Linked DNA regions of Homo sapiens: all the other regions are linked to region 2. Evidence: promoter capture Hi-C in 16 types of primary human blood cells and fetal thymus (Javierre and others, 2016). All regions are on one chromosome and are shown on one strand. Each heading gives the region's core, a stretch centred on a gene start or on the middle of the fragment in contact. The rest is flanking DNA. Distances are from core to core; before and after follow the strand shown. Region 1 holds the start of NEK8 (NIMA related kinase 8). Region 2 holds the start of NUFIP2 (nuclear FMR1 interacting protein 2). Region 3 holds the start of SPAG5 (sperm associated antigen 5).

Region 1 (4,093 bases), core at 1,388-3,887, 570 kb before region 2:
AACCGGGATCCCTCTCGGGCCAGTCCAGGCCGGCCGCCTCTCCCGCCGGCCGCCAGCCCCACACAGTTGGCGAAGCCCTCTAGGCCCCTTGGCTCCTCCTCGCCCTCCCTGCGAGGCCTCTGCCCCCGCCCCCAGCCGCCCGCGCCCCCGCCCCGCCCGCCTGCCCCCGCCCCGTCCGCCTGCCCCCGCCCCTCAGGCGCTGCTGCCGCGCGAGCCGGGTGTCCCCGTGGCCTCTCGGCCACCGGCCGGCTCCCGCGGACTTCGGGTAACTAGGAGCTGTGCTGGGGGCGTCGTCGCCGAGACACCCCTCGCTGGCGCCTCCCGACTGCCGACGGAGTCCCCGCTGCCCTCGCTCGCCTGGCCTCATTAACCCGCGTCCCCACTTTTCCCCGGGCCACCGGCTACCCCGCCCTGGGCGGGTACCGCGAGAGCTCTCTCCGCCCTCTACTTTCTGCGCAGAGCTGGACGGGACCCGACACGCCCACGCCCCCTAAGTCCTGGTCCTGGGGTGGGCTCCGGAGCCCCGCGTCCGACAGTGGTCTCCGTGCAGACCCAGTGCCCCTACCGCACCACTCGCAGTCTTCTGGCCGGAGTCCCGTGTTTACCTGTCCCTCCCGCGCCCGCGAGGTGGGCACTTGGGAACTGCTGAGTAACCCATCGCCACCTCTTCCCGCCGGCTCTTAAACTCCTGGGGCCGGGCGGCTGTCACAGTCCTCCCTCAGACAGTCCCGGCCCTCGGCCCGGCTCCCCGGAGGCTGGGCAAGCAAGACCTCCGATTTGCCGGGACAGCTGGAGTGACCCGCGCTCTCCAAGCCGGTAGCTTGCAGCAGTTGCGGCTCCTAGCCACTAGGTGTCAGCCTGCCCTCACTGTGGCGCGGGCTCCCCCTCCCGCCTCCGAGCGAGGCAGCTGCTTTCGGGGAGAGTTTAGGTATAAACTCTGGGCGAAAGGAGGAGCAGCTGAGAGCCAGCGAGGGAAGTTAAGCGGAGATGAGAGCGGGGAGGGAGAAGAGGGTAGTAATAGAGGAGGGGCGGGAAGAAGCGGGGGAGGGGAAAGGTGCTGCGGGCGGGAGGAAGAAGCCGAGAAAACCTGAGGCGCAAGGACCCAGGGACCAAGCCGTTTGAGTGTTTTCCTCCCCTATGGCTCCAAGGTTACACATTAACCCCTGTGGGACTCTTAAGTCAACCAAAGCCCAGTCGGTTTCTAGGTGAGAACACGGGTGTCCTGGGTGAGCGGCTTTCCCGCCCCTCCCCTTGGCTCACAGAGCTGCTCTGTCCGCCGGCCGACACCGGCCTGAGCCAGCGCCCTTCCAGCAGTCATTCCACGTGGGTGGGTTTGGATACCCTTGCGAGAGCCAGGACAGGGGCAGAAGATAAAACGCCCCTTTCCTCACACCCCTTGCCCACTCTGATACAGGGACGCTAACCTTCAGCTAGTGACCATCCTCCTCCTGAATACTGATGTTTTCTTTCTTTCTTTTTTTTTTTTTGAGATGGAGGCTCACTCTATCGCCCAGGCTGGAGTGCAATGGCACGATCTCGGCTCACTGCAACCTCCGCCTCCCAGATTCAAGCGATTCTCCTGCCTCAGCCTCCCGAGTAGCTGGGATTACAAGCGCGCGCCACCGTGCCCAACTAATTTTTGTATTTTTAGTAGAGACGAGGTTTTACCATGTTGGCCAGGTTGGTCTCAAACTCCTGACCTCAGGTGATCCGCCCGCCTCGGCCTCCCCAAAGTGCTGGAATTACAGGCGTGAGCCACCGCGCCTGGCCGAATACTGAGTTTTTCTAGAGCTCCCGCAGAGCAGGAGCCCGGGAGAACCTGGAATTAACCTCACTTCCGGTAAAGAGCCTAGCTGGTCACACTAACCAGCCCCCTGCCTCTAGGCTTTTGCCTTGAGCTCATTTCGGCGAAACCGCGGTCTTTCCTTCTCCCCTTGATGCTTTCAGGTACTGACCCACTACCGCCCCCATCTTCCCCCATGGGAAGATGAGCACTGAGGGCAGATTACCCTCCTGCAGCGCGTGTGTGAAAGGGGAGTTGAGAGTGCTGACGAGCGCGGCGCTCACTAGTCGGGACGGCCCGAGACCGTGTCATGTCCTCTTCAGGTGAATCAACTTGCACGACTTGGGATTTCCCCCGTCCCTCCCCAGGCAAACACGAAACCAACCCTGCTGCCTTCTCCCAGGAGCGCTGGTCTCGGTCGTTTTGGGTGTGTTTATCGTTTGCGTGCCAAGGAGAACCCGCTTTCTCCTGAAATAGCGTCACTCGTGGGCAAGAAGGGGGTCAATCTTCTCTTCCCACCCCTTCCCGGCCTGTGGGGTTTAACTCTCGGGAACGCGACATCCTTTTAGTCTAGCAAGCTTTACAAGGGCTGGGTATATGTGTGGGAGGGGCGGGTACCGTGCCCGCCATTGCGGGCGCGCCCTATTTTCTTGCCCTATTCTTGGACACTGCGTGGGGCAGGGTCGTGAGGGGAAAAGTGACGGCGTGTCGCAGCGGGAGGTGTGTGGTGCAGGCCCACAAATACGGACGCGTGGCGGAACCCACACCTAGGGCGCTGGCTCCGCCCCGCAAGCCGCTCGCCGTGAAGGGGCGGGGCCCAGAGTGGGTGGGTCCGCGCACGCGCCGCGTGGGGGACGGAAGTGAAACTCTAAGAAATGAGATGGAGAAGTACGAGCGGATCCGAGTGGTGGGGAGAGGTGCCTTCGGGTGAGCCAGGGCTCTGGGGGAGGAAACTGCTAGGGGATAGGGAAAATAAGCCCCAATTCCGCCCGCGAAGTCGCCGCCCGCCTAATCCCGCCCCAAGGCGTGAGCGCCACTCTGGGAAGCCCCGCCCAAGCTTCCGGTCCCAGTCCCCCGGGGAGACTCCGCCTCTACGGAGGCCACGCCCCTGACAGGCCCATTGCTCCGCCCACTGAGTTATGTTAGCTTCTTTATTCATTCGTTCAACAAATACTGAGTGCCAGCTATGTATGTCAGGCTTTGGCCGCTGGGTATATAGTTAGAACCGGAACGGGCGTGGTCTTTTCCCTCTTGGAACTTACTGACTGTGGGAAAGTTATACAATAAACAAAACATTATGAAGTAAGAAGTTATAGCAGTTATGAAGTGTTATTAGCAGGTTGTGAGGATAGAGTACATTACCAGTGAGAATACTTATATGAGATGGTCAAGGAAGAATTCTCTGAGAAGGGAGATTGCTTGCTTGCTTGATTGATTTTTAAGACAGAGTCTCCCTCTGTCACCCCGGCTGGAGTTCAGTGGCACGATCTTGGCACACTGCAACCACCACCTCCTGGGTTCAAGCAATCGTTGTGCCTCAGCCTCCCGAGTAGCTAGGATTACAGGCGTGCGCCACCATGCCCGGCTAAATTTTTTGGATTTTTTTTTTTTTTTTTTTTTTTTGAGGCAGTCTCACTCTGTCGCAGTGGCGCGATCTCGAGTGCAGTGGCACTATCTCAGCTCACTGCAACCTCTGCCTCCCTGGTTCAAGCGCTTCTCCTGCCTCAGCCTCCCGAGTAGCTGGGACTACAGGCACGCGCCACCATGCCCAGCTAATATTTTTTGTGTTTTTAGTACAGATGGGGTTTCGCCATGTTGGCCAGGCTGGTCTCAAATTCCTGACCTCAGGTGATCCGCCCGCGCCGGCCTCCCTAAGTGCTGGAATTACAGGCGTGAGCCACCGCGACAGGCCAGAAGTGAGATTTAAGGCCAAGACTTGAGGAATGAGGACCAGTAGTCTGCAGGTGAAGGGAGAACTTTTCAGGCAAAGGAAATAGCGTATGTGAAATGTCTCACATGGGAAAACAGAGCATTCAAGAAACCGAGAAAGACTAGTAATAGTTGGAATGTAGTGGGCAAGGTAGAGAATGGTATAAAATGTAATTGTCGAGGGCGGGGACTAGATTATGGCCTGATAACCTGAGATAAAAGGTTCATTTGCCACAAACGGTTTTGTTTTGTTTTTGTTTTTGTTTTTGAGACGGAGTCTTGCACTGTCGCTCAGGCTGGAGTGTAGTGGCAATCTCAGTTCACTGCAATCTCCGCCTCCCGGGTTCACGCAATTCTCCTGCCTCAGCATCCTGAGTAGCT
Region 2 (4,327 bases), core at 1,734-4,233:
ATGTAAACATTATAGAATAAATTTAAGAAATTAAAGGATTCCTAGCGCTTTATTTAGGGCTGCTTATACTAACCCTACTTCCAAAAGACTCAGCAAAACTTGAGTCCTGATACATCTAGCTTTTCAATTAGAAACAAATTACTCAACACATTTGGCCTTCTCTTGCGCCCTCTTCTGGATTAAAAAAAACTGTTCCTCTTTAGGTTTGTGAGCAATGGATTACCAAAGCCTACCTCAACATGTTACAGATAAATTTCAAAAATATTGTAATGTTTTCTTAGTTATTAGCATTATGCATGTCAAAGCAACAGTACTGTGACCAAATCATACACTCGCCCCAAACTGTTTACATTCTGTCAAAACTGCTAATTCCAGTTTCCTCCTCTTTATCCACCCCTTCCAAGACAAGAAATATTTGGAGGAATACCACCTTGAATGGTTCAGCGGTTGCTTCCACATGTAGAGAGAAGTCTGGCAAGAGTATATTAACCTGACCGATGAGATACAATTTTTCAATCTCAACAGTAATATTGCCTTATGCAGCCATAATATGGTAGTATTTTCTCATCTTTTGAACAAGATCTAATGCTAAAAAATCTAGTTATATAGTCCCTAACAGTTTTTAAACTGTTCCAAATCTTTAGGATTAAAACACCTAACTCGTGCGTATGTGTTCACTTCTATTGCATACTATCGGGTCCCTACGAAGTCCCAAAATGGAAAATCTGACATTCTAATTTCAGTCTTCAAGTTACAATCTGCAATAAAAAAGCACTTAGTATTTCTCCAGCTCTCAACAATTCCTTCTATCAAATTTGATACGCTGGGTTTAACATACGCTTTCTTACGCTTCATTTCTCTTCGATTTATAAAGAGCCCTTATTTTTTAAAATCTGCGTGGGTTATAAACTATTAAACTCACTTCTCGTGAAATACTTTCTTACATGACTTTTACCCTCAATTTCTCGTTTATTAAGATTAGTTTGGGGATCAATATCGATTTTAAAATACGAAAAACACCTTTCTTTTTAACACGGAGAGAAGCCTCATCCGAGGCAAGATGGTAGTAGTCTAACCTCATGGATGAGCCACTTGGGTTCACCCTTAAGGACAAGAAAGAGGGGTCAAAAAGCTCGCACTCTTCCCCATCCTAACATTTTTTAAAATCCCTCACCTCAAAGACACTACCCAAGCTCAGAAGGTAAGTGCTGGGTCGGGAGGGGAATGGAACAAGGTTTTTGGATTTTTTTTTTTTTTTTGTAGAAAATGAGCTGCTAGAAGGAAAAGGCCCAAGTGAAAGCCTCAGAGGCGGAGTCGTGAGCGAACCTGGCAGGAGACGAGGTTCCTGTGGCAGAGAAACTCGTGACCGGGGAGCTGGGTTCCCGCTGGGTACCCCACCCGGCCTCAGGCACCGCCTCTACCCGAAATGAATCCCCCCGCCGCCCCCCCAGGCCTCCTGCCTCTAGGAGCGCCGCGGCCGCCGCCCGCGGCCTCCTTCCCTCTCAGCTCCGCTTCGAGGCCGGCTCCCCGCCCCGACTGCCCGCGCCTCCCGCCGCACCCGGGAGCGGGAAACGCGGCCGCTGGCGCGCGGGGCCCTGCGCAGGCCGCTCCCCTCGTGGCCGCTTCCCTCCCCCACCCCAACCGCCCCCGCCCCTCACCCCAGGGACCCGCCCGGGGCCGCGCGCCGCCACCGGGTTACACAACCCCGGCCGGCGACGGGGGGGGGGGCGGCCGCGGTGCGGGGGGCGCCGGCGCCCCCGCAGTGCAGGGGGCGAGGCTGCGGCCGGTGGTGATCCCGGGTCACCCGGCTCCGCCGCCCCGTGTGGCCCTCGACACCCTTCCCCCTCCGCTCCTCAGTGGGCCGGAGTCGGTGACAGGAATCGGCTTCCAACATGGCGGACAGGAAGCGGCCCCGCGAGGAGGAGAGAACATTCCAGCCGCGCCGGCTCTGGGGGGAGCGGGCGCGGGGCGCCGGCCTCGGGAGGAGCCGCGGGACAAGACTGCGGGGTCCGGCGCCCAAAAAGGGCGTTTAGTGGTGGAAATGACCCGTGAGATGAGGGGTCCCAACAGCCCCCCCCACCGAGACGGGGAGCCCCAAGGCCACAGGTGGGCTTGGGGTGGCGGGTGAGGGGCACTTCCTCAACTCACCCTACCTACCCACTCCTCGCCGCCTGCAAAAGGGTCTCGCGACACCATCCGAGTCGGGATTCGCTAGGCCTTCCTGAGTTACACCTCGAGGGATTTTTTGGGGGGGTAGGTTTACCCCATCTCAGGGCCCCCAAATTGAGGTAACTCCAGGGACGCAGGGAGGTGAATGGGAAAAGAATAATGAGGTTGGACTTGCAAGGCCGACCCAGCAGGTCTCCCTTCAGCCGGGGCCGGGGCCAGGAAGGTCACGCTGGCCTGGCTGGGCCTCTCCCATGCTGGAGGGAAGGAGAGGGCGCTGCAAACCCCATTGCTCAGCCCGAGCTCTAGAATGAAAGGGGCATCCCCAGAGCCGGAGGGGACACACACACACACACCCCGACCCCGTCCGCGCTTTTCGGATCCAGCCCCACCCCCATCTCTCCTGTCCTCCACCCCCAACCCCCTTCCCCCACCCGTCCTCCCTCCCAGACCTGTTTTCTTCTTCGGCGTTTCCTGGTGCTGCTGGAGGGTGTGTTTCTGCTCATGTTTCAGCGGCTTTGGCTGGGCCTTGGGGCTGCCCTCGGCTCCATGCTGCAGGTATTGGTGAGGCTGCTGGTGATGATGGTGGTGGTGGTGGTTGTGGCTGTGGTTGTAGAAATAATAATGGTGGTGGTGGTGCGGCTGCTGCTGCTGCTGCTGAGGGTGATGGTGCGGATGGTGGTGGCTGTGATGGTGCTGAGGCTGTGGCTGGCCGGGCTTCTCCTCCATTGAAAGCGGCTGGGACTCCCTGGCTGAGGCTGCGGGCTGCTGCACCGTCAGGATCTGAGACTGCTTCTCAGGGCTCACTCAGTATATCTGAGCGCGTCTCGCCAGCGCACTGGTTAACCGAGCGATTCTGCGAGATTGGCAGCCGCACTCCAACAATCAGGAGCCACGCTGTGCCGCAAGCCCCGCCCCCAGCTCAAATCCTCTTTCCTTCCCCTTCGCCGCTGCCGCCTGGCCAACGCCACTTACCCTGTGCAACCTCACAGGGCCGGGCCTTCAACGTCAGCACTATGGCTCTCTCTTCTGTCGCTTTCTCTCCTTCACCACGCAGTCTGTGAACAGCACTTTCTACACTCCTCGCCGGCAAGCAGGCTCGTGTCGAGGGTAGCAGATTCCACTGGCGATTCCACTGGTGCTGTGAGCCATCTGCTGGCTTTGCACCTCTTAGAATCTGGTGTTTTTTTGTTTTTTGTTTTGTTTTGTTTTTAATCCTTTTCCGGGTAACCAGAAAGGGAAGCTCAATTCCCTTAACCCCGAGACCACTAAAGGGGCAATACAAAAAGAGGAAATAAATACATTTTTAAGCATACAAGAGCTTCACAATCCAGTAGATCATTTTGTATTCTGGATTCATTTTGCTTTGTATTCATATGCTAATCTCTTCCTTTCCACGAAGGGATTATAGGGTTCCACAATGGGGTATCTGTGTAATTTTCTAAAAGGGCACAAAGGGTTTAAATCATTGTTTCTTTGTAGTTGGAGGCAAGGGAGAGCAGGAGGAATGAAAATTTACACTGAAGGTTTTTTTTTTTTTAATTAAACTCTGCAGGTGAGGTCAACTGTGGAACCAAAATAGGTTTTAGAATGAGAAGTTTCAAGAGCAAAGGAAGGGGAGAAAGAGCACTTAAAAGTTATTAAGTGGGTTTGTTTTTTTTTTTTTTGGCACTTATGGAAAAATTGAAATTAAAAGAAATATTCTGTAGCGTTTTGTAGTGTAGATTTAACTTATCCTGCATTACCACATCACAGTATATGATTTTCAAAAGCAAATGTTAGAGCCATGATAGTGGTTACTCAGGAAGGAAGAGGGTTGTGATGGGGAGGGACACAGGTTACTCTGATAATATTTCATTTTGGGGGCTAGGTGGTGATTACATATATTTGCTTAGTAATTATTTGTTAAACTGAATATACAGATAAAATGCACTTTTCCCAATGTATGTTATAGATTGGGGGATTTTTTTAATTGTAAAATATTCATAATATAAAATTTACCATCTTAATATTAAGTGTATGGTTCAGGTGCATTAGGTACATTCGTATTGTTGTAGAACCATGACCATCATCTATCTCCAGAACTTTTTCATCATTCCAAACTGAAACTTCATACCCAATAAAAATAAATGTCCTTTCCCTCCTCCTTCCATCCCTTGAT
Region 3 (4,005 bases), core at 900-3,399, 700 kb before region 2:
CGGGCAGATCACCTGAGGTCAGGAGTTCGAGACCAGCCTGACCAACATGGAGAAACCCGTCTTTACTGAAAATACAAAAATTAGCTGGGTGTGGTGGCACATGCCGGAGGCTGAGACAGAAGAATCGCTTGAACCCGGGAGGCAGAGGTTGCGGTGAGCCGAGATCGCGCCATTGGACTCCAACCTGGGCAACAAGAGCGAAACTCCATCTCAAAAAAAAATTAATTAAATTAAATTAAATTAAATATTCAATTATTCAGGCCAGGCACAGTGGCTCACACCTGTAATCCCAGCACTTTGGGAGGCCGAGGCGGGCGGACCACTTGAGGTCAGGAGTTTGAGACCAGCCTGGCCAACATTGTGAAACCCTGTCTCTACTAAAAATACAAAAAATTAGCCAGGCGTGGTGGTGTGCACCTGTAATCCCAGTTACTCAGGAGCCTGAGGCAGGAGAATCGCTTGAGCCCTGGAGGCGGAGATTGCAGTGAGCCAAGATCACGCCACTGCACTCCAGCCTGGGTGACAGAGCAAGACTCCGTCTCAAAAACAAAAAAATTCAATTCTTCAGTCACCTCAGCCACGTTTTAAGTGCTCAATAACCATGTGACTAGTAGTTACCATGCTGGACAGCACAGATTATCAAATATTTCCCTCATCCCAGAAAGTTCTATTGGACAGTAGGTATTTTGCAACTCTTTCAAGAAAGACTGCTATGCTATCATCATACTTCTGTTACTCAGGATGTCATCTGTCTATACACTCTTCTTTCCTCCTCATACCTATTTTATTGATATCCCATCTCCTTCCAAAAATAATTCATATGCATGAAAATGAATAGATACGATTAATGAAATAACAAAGTCATGGTCAAAAAAGAGGAAGCAAAACTTCCTATACAGCTATAACAGTAGCTGTATGTGATGATCCAGTTTGGCCTTGAGCTTTCTAGAAGGCAGAGCAAGAGGGAAAATATGGTAAACTACATAGTTCTCATTATCAGAAAGAAAAGGATAGCAATTTCTTCAGGAAGACAATTTTTCCAGGCAGTTAGTCCTAAAGCCTTTCTTGGAGGAATCTTATACAGGAGTCAAGCTGCTTCCTTGACAAGTTTTGACAGCAACTGAAATGCAGTTTCTACATGGCTACGTCTCTCAAAACGTTTAACAAAAGTACAAATCAGTGAGGGCAATTCTGCAAGGAGCTAGTTTAAACTAAGGTGATTCAAGTACCCTACCTTCCAGTGGTGTAACTTGATCCCAGGAGAGTTCTAACTACCTCCTAGAGTAAATGGATATTGCCTCAATCTTGCAGGTGACTGACCTTTCCGTAAGTGACCCCATGTTGGAGGAAGAGCACTAATCAGGGTGGTAGGATTTCTCAATAGTTTGATAAAGGTCGAAGGGAGGAGGAGGAGGTAATAAAAACTAACAGCTAAACAGAGATTCAAGTTCTCACTGGATTTCCTTTAACCACCCTAGGGCACCTCTCTGTTGGCCTGAATAGCTGTAAATGGATGTCACCGACGTAGAAGACTTCATTATCGTTATTAATTATTGTAGCCCTGGCCCTCTGTTCCCCTGAGCTCTCACCCTGGGCAAACAGCCCAGTCGAGAAGCTGTCCAGGCGAATCTCACCTGCAGCCCCAGCTTGCACAGTGATGGGGTCAGCGAGGAGCAAGCGGGGGATCTTTTTCCAGAGTTGGTGAGGGCACCGGGCTGCAGGGTAAGTTCACGGAGAGGAGTTCTCATAGATGGTTTTCCCTGAGAAAGAAACCAAGAAAGAGGGCGAGTGTGAGGAAGCCTGGGTTCTGCCAGCCCGCCCCTCCTCCCTCCCTAAGAAGCCCAAAATGCGATTAGAAGAGTACGCTCGCACCCTAGTCGCGCAGGAGCAGCAAGGCGAACAAAGACTCCACAAGCCCCCAACCCCGGGCTCGACCCAACTTTCCAGGACAGTAGACACGGCCGGTGCCCCCGCGACAGCAGCCCGGCCCAGTTCTCTCCGCCAGAGATCTCCCGCTTACCGTCTGGGGCGAAGGCGACAGGCTGAGGCTCAGTTTTTTCACTCGCCACATCTTCAACCAGAAGGCAGGCCTATCACGTCTCAGACCAAGTCGAGGACGCCATGTTCACCCGCCGTCTGTGTTTGAACCTGCTCTGCGCTTCCTGGTTGGCTGCTTCAGGCGCGCGCGTACGCTCGGGGGTAGAGCCCGGGGGGCGGGGCCCGCGTTGACCACGCCCCCGGCCCTGCCTGCCCCTCCGTTGTCGAGCGTTTTCCGCTGACGGAGCCCTCACCTCAGACACCGGCGGTAGGGCTGGATGCGGGCCCGGCCCAGGACCGGTCTTCTGTCCTCACACCGGGGAGGACCACGCAGGTAGCTGGAGAGTCCAGGAGTCCATCCCTCCTGCTTCCAGCGGACCTCCTCACATCCATGGTGTTCATATCCAAGTTGTCTCCGTGGATGGAGAAGAGGAATCCTCTCCCTAGGTCTCCCTCAGTCCTCTCCAGCCGCAGCCTTGACGGGAAAGAGCCGGCCAGGGAGTCTAGAAGCCGAAGCGGTGCCGAGCGGCTTCCCTAGGCTTGGTGGGCCCGCGTCCGGGACGGCCCGGGCCGTGGTTCTCGACCTGGGCTGTAATGTCTCCAGAGTTTCTGGGCTTTTCCTGGGACTTACTCAGGCCGGCTACCAGTTTACTGGGCTAACCGCCTACATGTATTGAACATTGAGTGTGTGCCTGGCGCTATGCCGAATGCCGTGTAGTAGCTCATTTAATGCGCATAAGGACCTACGTAGTGAGAAATACTATAAATATCCCCATTTGTGACAGGAAGGAGCTGAGTCAGAGAGACCGTGTGTAATTTGCTCAGCGTCACACAGATAGTAAACGGCAGAGCCGCTCTTCCTCCCTGTCCCGCCAGCTCCTGCCTTCTGCTGTCTTGGATCTCCTATGCACGGGAAACCTGTTGAAGGTAGGACAGCCGAAAGGTCAGTATTCAGAGTGAGCCGTTTGCGAAGGTGTGTGTGCTTTGCACACTCACGGCGCCCTGTTTACACTCTGCAAGTCTTAATACATAGGGGGAAAGCAGCAGTCCAAAGAGGAGGAACTATGATGTTATAAACTGCAGCGTCCTCAGGGACGGGCTCCTCTAGCATTGTGTTGTCCAGTACGTTAGCCCTAGCCATAGTGGCTTTTGAGCACTTCAGATGTGACTAGTCCCAGTGGGAATGTGCTATAAATGTAAAACACTGTACAAACTGGATTTCAAACACGTCGTATGAAAAAAAGAATGCAAAATATCGCCAGGTGCGGTGGCTCATGCCTGTAATCCCAGCACGGAGGAGACAGAGGCAGGAGGATCCTTTAAGCCCAGGAGTTCGAGACCTGCCTCGGCAATATAGTGAGACCTATGTCTACAAAAAAAAAATTTGGGCCGGGCACGGTGGCTCACGCCTATAATCCCGCACTTCGGGAGGCCGAGGCAGGCGGATCACCTGAGGTCAGGAGTTCGAGACCAGCCTGCCCAACACGGCGAAACCCCGTTTCTACTAAAAATACAAAAATTAGCCAGGTGTGGTGGCACACGCCTGTAATCCCAGCTACTTGGGAGGCTGAGGCAGGAAGAATCTCTTGAACCTGGGAGGCGGAGGTTGCAGTGAGCTGAGATGGCACCACTACACTCCAGCCTGGGTGACAGAGCTAGACTCCGTCTCAAAAAAAAAAAAAAGTTAAGCCAGGGGTGGCAGGGTTGGGGGCACACACCTATAATCCCAGCTTGGGAGGATCGCTTGAACCTAGTTCAAGGCTGCTGTGAGCTATGATCATCCCACTGCACTCTAGCCTGGGCGACAAAGCAAGACCTTGTCTCAAAAAAAAAAAAAAATATATATATATATATTTTTTTTTTTTAATACTGTTTACATATTGAAATATTTTAGGAATATTGGGTTAAATAAAATACATTAAAATTAATTTTCTTTTGAGACAGGGTCTTGCTTTATCACCCAGGCAG

What was found. Contacts are between HindIII fragments. The CHiCAGO score rates a contact against its expected background, and 5 or more counts as called.
Region 1: a contact is called between the fragment with the promoter of NEK8 here and the fragment with the promoter of NUFIP2 in region 2, in 1 of 17 cell types (naive CD4 T cells). The highest score is 6.7, in naive CD4 T cells.
Region 3: a contact is called between the fragment with the promoter of SPAG5 here and the fragment with the promoter of NUFIP2 in region 2, in 1 of 17 cell types (naive CD8 T cells). The highest score is 5.9, in naive CD8 T cells.

What each region holds. Positions count from the first base shown.
Region 1 is chr17:28,726,151-28,730,243 of GRCh38, forward strand. NEK8 (NIMA related kinase 8) reads left to right here and starts at 2,638. Exons shown (of 15, transcript NM_178170.3): 1 at 2,638-2,710. The coding sequence starts at 2,664. TLCD1 (TLC domain containing 1) reads right to left here and starts at 83. Exons shown (of 4, transcript NM_138463.4): 1 at 1-83. RefSeq lists enhancers at 1-342, 343-1,066, 1,791-2,514, 2,042-2,481, 2,515-3,238 and a silencer at 1-391. The HindIII fragment of the contact is 479 bases long and covers 2,360-2,838 here.
Region 2 is chr17:29,291,165-29,295,491 of GRCh38, forward strand. It overlaps NUFIP2 (nuclear FMR1 interacting protein 2), which reads right to left and starts at 2,984. Exons shown (of 4, transcript NM_020772.3): 1 at 2,619-2,984. The coding sequence starts at 2,895. RefSeq lists silencers at 1,653-1,832, 2,463-2,582 and enhancers at 2,289-3,049, 2,743-2,842, 3,153-3,352. The HindIII fragment of the contact is 5,437 bases long and covers 1-4,327 here.
Region 3 is chr17:28,596,876-28,600,880 of GRCh38, forward strand. It overlaps SPAG5 (sperm associated antigen 5), which reads right to left and starts at 2,150. Exons shown (of 24, transcript NM_006461.4): 1 at 2,021-2,150; 2 at 1,635-1,760. The coding sequence starts at 2,071. It overlaps SPAG5-AS1 (SPAG5 antisense RNA 1), which reads left to right and starts at 2,258. Exons shown (of 3, transcript NR_040012.1): 1 at 2,258-2,371; 2 at 2,823-2,980. RefSeq lists enhancers at 1,812-2,356, 2,581-2,660 and a silencer at 2,061-2,370. The HindIII fragment of the contact is 7,511 bases long and covers 1-4,005 here.